Linked DNA regions of Homo sapiens: region 2 is linked to region 1. Evidence: promoter capture Hi-C in human tissues and cell types (Jung and others, 2019). All regions are on one chromosome and are shown on one strand. The core of a region is centred on a gene start or on the middle of the fragment in contact, and the rest is flanking DNA. Distances in the headings are between cores, read along the strand shown.

Region 1 (2,700 bases), core at 149-2,648:
ACTGCAACCCCACCTCCCGCGTTCAAGCAGTTCTCATACCTCAGCCTGCCGACCTCAGCCTCTTGAGTAGCTGGGACTACAGGCATGTGCTAACACACCCGGCTAATTTTGTATTTTTAGTAGAGACGGGGTTTCTCCATGTTGGTCAGGCTGGTCTCGAACTCCCGACCTCAGGTGATCCACCTGCCTCAGCCTCCCAAAGTGCTGGGATTACAGGCATGAGCCACCGAGCCCGGCCCGCTGTTAAATATTCTAATCTGGCTGGAGTGGTGGCTCATGTCTACAATCCCAGCACTTTGGAAGGTTGAGGCAGGAGGATCACTTGAGGCCAGGAGGATCACTTGAGACCAGCCTGGACAACATAGTGAGACCCCATTTCTACAAAAAATTAAAAAGATAAATAAAAATGAACACTTTTTTTTTTTTTTTGAGATGGAGTCTCGCTCTGTCACCCAGGCTGGAGTGCAGTGGTGCAATCTCGGCTCACTGCAACCTCCACCTCCCGGGTTCAAGCTATTCTTCTGCCTTAGCCTCCCGAGTAGCTGGGACTACAGGCGCCCTCCACTATGCCTGGCTAATTTTTAGTATTTTTAGTAGAGACAGAGTTTCACCGTGTTAGCCAGGATGGTCTCGATCTCCTGACCTTATGATCTGCCTTCCTTGGCCTCCCAAAGTGCTGGGATTACAGGCGTGACCCACCGCACCCAGCCAAAAATAAATACATTTTCTAATTTGGCCTCAACATCTCCCCCAAGCTGCTTCTTATCCATGTCCATTTCTCGGGGACTGCCCCTTCATCCCAGAGCCCTAGGCCCGTTCTTAGACAGCTCCCGCCTTTCCCTCAAACCGTCGGTCTCACGGCTGCTTCTCCTGGCCTTTTGAGTGTCTCATCCATTGGCCTCGCCCTCTCCTCCCCAACCTCTCCCATCTGTGCCCTGTCCTGGACTCTTTCCCTGGCTTGGGGCTTCCACTCTTACCCGCTCCAACCTATCCCTTTTCATACAGTAACTTTCTGACACTCATATCTGACCCTGCCCTCCCCTGCTCAAAGCCCTTCTGTGGCTCCCCAGTGCCCTCAGAACAGAATCCAAACTCCTTAGCCTGGCATTCAGGGCCTTTTACAACCTCACCCCACAGTAGCCACAGACTGGGACAGGAGTTTTCTGAACACAGACACACACACATCACATCTCCCAAGCTCAAGAAGCCCACCTTTCCTCACTCCTGCCTTATCCCCATTCCTGTATGCCCAAGGCCCACGATTAGACCCCCCTCTGTCAACACTTCACCTGTTTGGTCTTTGCAAGATTCCGCCACTGGGCGGGGGAGGGGGCCCAGCCTGGTACCCCACCCCCACTCCAGCCAGGGCTCAGGTCTCCAACAACAGAACCAGAGCCACTCAACAGCGCTGGAACCCATTCGGTGGGGCCTGGGGCCCCTCATCCCAAGCCAGGAGGGTTTCTGGGGAGGGGTGCAGCCCCTGGCAGACTGACAGTGTGGCCTGGGGGTTTGGGGGTGCCAGGGAAGCAGGGGCCAACCTCATAGGAGGAGACACGAGTGCGGTTCTCTTTCCCCCACTGGGGGGCCTGCTGTGTCAGCAGCCAGGCGGGAGGCCTGGGCGGCAGAGCCAGTGGTACAGGGGCCTGGGCAGGGCGGTGTCTGGCAGCAGCGGCACCATGTCCACCATCCAGTCGGAGACTGACTGCTACGACATCATCGAGGTCTTGGGCAAGGGGACCTTCGGGGAGGTAGCCAAGGGCTGGCGGCGGAGCACGGGCGAGATGGTGGCCATCAAGATCCTCAAGAATGACGCCTACCGCAACCGCATCATCAAGAACGAGCTGAAGCTGCTGCACTGCATGCGAGGCCTAGACCCTGAAGAGGCCCACGTCATCCGCTTCCTTGAGTTCTTCCATGACGCCCTCAAGTTCTACCTGGTCTTTGAGCTGCTGGAGCAAAACCTTTTCGAGTTCCAGAAGGAGAACAACTTCGCGCCCCTCCCCGCCCGCCACATCCGTACAGTCACCCTGCAGGTGCTCACAGCCCTGGCCCGGCTCAAGGAGCTGGCTATCATCCACGCTGATCTCAAGCCTGAGAACATCATGCTGGTGGACCAGACCCGCTGCCCCTTCAGGGTCAAGGTGAGTAGGGGTCGTCTAGGGTGGCTGCGTCCCTAGTTCCTTGTCTTTTTCCCAGCTTCTTCCAGCCCTAGATTTTTTTTTTAATTTTTTAAAATTATTATTATTATTATTTTTGAGACGGAGTTTCATTCTGTTACCCAGGCTTGAGTGCAGTGGCACAATCTCAGCTCACTGCAACTCCGCCTCCTGGGTTCAAGTGATTATCCTGCCTCAGCCTCCCGAGTTGCTGGGATTACAGGGATGCGCCACCACGCCCAGCTAATTTTTTTTTTGTACTTATCAGAGACGGGGTGATGATGGCATGATCTTGGTTCACTGCCTCCGCCTCCCGGGTTCAAGCGATTCTCCTGCCTCAGCCTCCTGAGTAGCTGGGAATACAGGTGCCCGCCACCCATGCCCGGCTAATTTTTGTATTTTTAGTAGAGATGGAGTTTCGCCATGTTGGCCAGGCTGGTCTCAAACTCCTGACCTTGTGATCCACCTGCCTCAGCCTCCCAAAGTGCTGGGATTACAGGCGTGAGCCACCACGCCCAGCCAATTTTTGTGTTTTTTGGTAGAA
Region 2 (2,700 bases), core at 46-2,545, 34 kb after region 1:
GACTAAACCATCAATTGTTTCTGACCTCTTTGGACTGAACCATCAATTGTCTACAGAAAACGGAACAGAACACTGGTTTTGCAAACTGATTTTTCATTTTCAGCAGTTAGATCTTTTATTTCAACGGACCCTTTAAAATAAGTGCCCCTCCTAGGGAGAGAAGTCAGTCAGTCTGAAAAACAATTAAATAGGTCCAAAAAGCATCATGAATGATAAACACTTCTGAACTGGAACTTAAAAACCCTAAGCTGTCTCACTCCTGCTCAAAATCCTTCTGTGGCTCCCCATTGCCCCCAGGACAAAGGACAAACTTCTTACCATGTCCTACAGAGCCCTACATGGACAGGCCCCTGTGGACCTTCCCCCATCATTACAGCTTCAATTCCCTCTTTCTCAACCCAAAGCTCTGTCTTGTTTCCTCCTTTCCCCTGACTCCAGCTCTAGAGGTTCCAGGGCCCCCCAGATACCTCCTTCAAGGTGTCCCCAGACTCCCACACCTACTATGTCCCCAACTGTCCTTACCATCTTCCTGCCCCAGGTCCCCATTTCAAGAAGAGCTGTTGAACCCATCCTTCAGGTCTCAGCCTTGGTGCCTCCTCCTCCAGAAAGCTCTCCTTGACTACCCCCAGCCCTGGGCCTTGTCCTGGACCCCAACCATTTGTCGACTTGGTCCTGTGAGGGTCTCTCCAATTCGCCCTCCCCCACAAGCTCTGACTTAGTCTCTCCCACCTGGGTCCCCACTCCAGCCACCTCCCTTGGCTTCCAGACTCCACTCAATCCTTGCAATCCGACCTCCACGTGAATTTGACACATCCCTCTCCTGCTCAAAAACTCTGTGGCTCCCCGGTGTCCTCAGTACACAGTCTCAGCTCCTCACTGTGGCTGACAGGGCCTTGAATGATCTTCCCTGAATGACCTCTTTGGCCTACTCTCTCACCGTTCTTCCCACCCCAGCCATATTTATGATCTTTCAGTTCCTTGAACCAAAACCACACTTTCATCACCAGACCCTCCCACAGCTGCTTTCCCTGCCGAGCACACCTTGCTCATTTCTGTCCGCTCACATACCACCTCCTCCATGAAGCCCTCTGGGCTCACACAGTCCCCTGGGCCTCCCTTTCCCAGCCCTGATCCCTCTGCCTATGCCTCCTAGGGAGAGAAGACGGTCAGTCTGAAAAACAATTAAATAGGTCCAAGAAAGCATCATGAATGGTGAACACTTCTAAATTGGAACTAGAGAAATCTAAGCTGTCCCACTCCTGCTCAAAATCAGTGCTGTGATTAGCTGGCAGTGCTTGCTGCTGGCAGTGCCTAATGATGGGTTCGTCTCTCCTATTTGACTGGGAGACCTATGACGGCAGGTCCAGGCTATCTAACTCACTGCCATGTCCCCAGTACCATGGAGCATAGGAAAGTGCATAGCAGGTGCTCAGTGGCCAGTTAATTAATCTATTAATTCAACTAATATTTAATCAATAATGACTTGCTGACAAGCCCTGCTCCAGAAACTGAGATTGCAGGAAAAAAAAAAAAAAAAAAAAAAAAAGGAGCCGGCACGGTGGCTCACACCTGTAATCCAAGCACTGTGGGAGGCTGAGGCAGGCGGATCATCTGAGGTTGGCAGTTCGAGACCAGCCTGGCCAACATGGAGAAACCCGTCTCTACTAAAAATACAAAATCAGCCAGGCCCTGGTGGCGCGTGCCTGTAGTCCCAGCTACTTGGGAGGGTGAGGCAGGAGAATCACTTGAACCTGGGAGGCAGAGGTTGCGGTGAGCTGAGATCACGCCACTGCACTTCAGCCTGGGCAACAAGAGCGAAACTCTGTCTCAAAAAAAACAAAAAACAAAAAAAAAAGGAAAAAAAATCTTCTTAAAGATGTTATTCTACTAAGGGAGTGAGGGAGTGAAAATAAATGAGTGAAATACATGGAATGTGCCTTGGAAAAAAATAAAGCAGGGGAGGGAGACAGTGGCATCACAACTGCCAAAGGCTTATGTCCCAGTTCAAAAATAACAACAGGGTCGGGCATGGTGGCTCATGCTTGTAATCCCAGCACTTTGGGAGGCCGAGGTGGGTGTATCACTTGAGGTAAGGAGTTCGAGACCAGCCTGGCCAACATGGTGAAACCCCATCTGTACTAAAAATACAAAAATTAGCAGGGCGTGGTGGTGTGCATCTATAGTCCCAGCTACTTGAGGGGGCTGAGGCATGAGAATCGCTTGAACCTGGGAGGCGGAGGTTGCAGTGAGCTGAGATCATGCCACTGCACTGTAGCCTGGGCGACAGAGTGAGACTCAGTCTCAAAACAACAACACAAAAACAAAAATAACACAGCCGGGCACGGTGGCTCACACCTGTAATCCCAGCACTTTGGGAGGCTGAGGCAGGTGGATCACTTGAGGTCAGGAGCTCGAGACCAGCCTGGCCTACATGGCGAAACCCTGTCTCTGTTAAAAATACAAAAATTAGCAGGGCGTGGTGGTACGCACTTGTAATTCCAGGTACTTGGGAGGCTGAGGCAGGAGAACTACTGGAACCCGGGAGGCAGAGGTTGTAGTGAACTGAGCTTGCACCACTGCACACCAGCCTGGGTGACACAAGACAGTGTCTCAATGAAAAATAAAATAATAATAATAACATGGCTGGGCACAGTGGCTCACTCACACCTGTCATTCCAGCACTTTAGGAGGCCAAAGCAG

Evidence for each region. The method cuts DNA at HindIII sites, captures the fragments that hold promoters and counts their contacts. A contact is called where the count stands out against the background at its distance.
Region 2: a contact is called between a fragment that was not itself captured here and the fragment with the promoter of HIPK4 in region 1, in 7 of the 25 tissues and cell types used here (dorsolateral prefrontal cortex, lymphoblastoid cells, mesenchymal stem cells and 4 more).

What each region holds. Positions count from the first base shown.
Region 1 is chr19:40,388,879-40,391,578 of GRCh38, reverse strand. It overlaps HIPK4 (homeodomain interacting protein kinase 4), which reads left to right and starts at 1,398. Exons shown (of 4, transcript NM_144685.5): 1 at 1,398-2,141. The coding sequence starts at 1,677. RefSeq lists enhancers at 946-1,495, 1,496-2,045. The HindIII fragment of the contact is 19,093 bases long and covers 1-2,700 here.
Region 2 is chr19:40,354,459-40,357,158 of GRCh38, reverse strand. The region is part of intron 1 of PLD3 (phospholipase D family member 3); the gene reads right to left. Among named protein-coding and RNA genes, the nearest start is that of PLD3, 7.1 kb to the right of the region's middle. RefSeq lists an enhancer at 1,057-1,246. The HindIII fragment of the contact is 9,182 bases long and covers 1-2,700 here.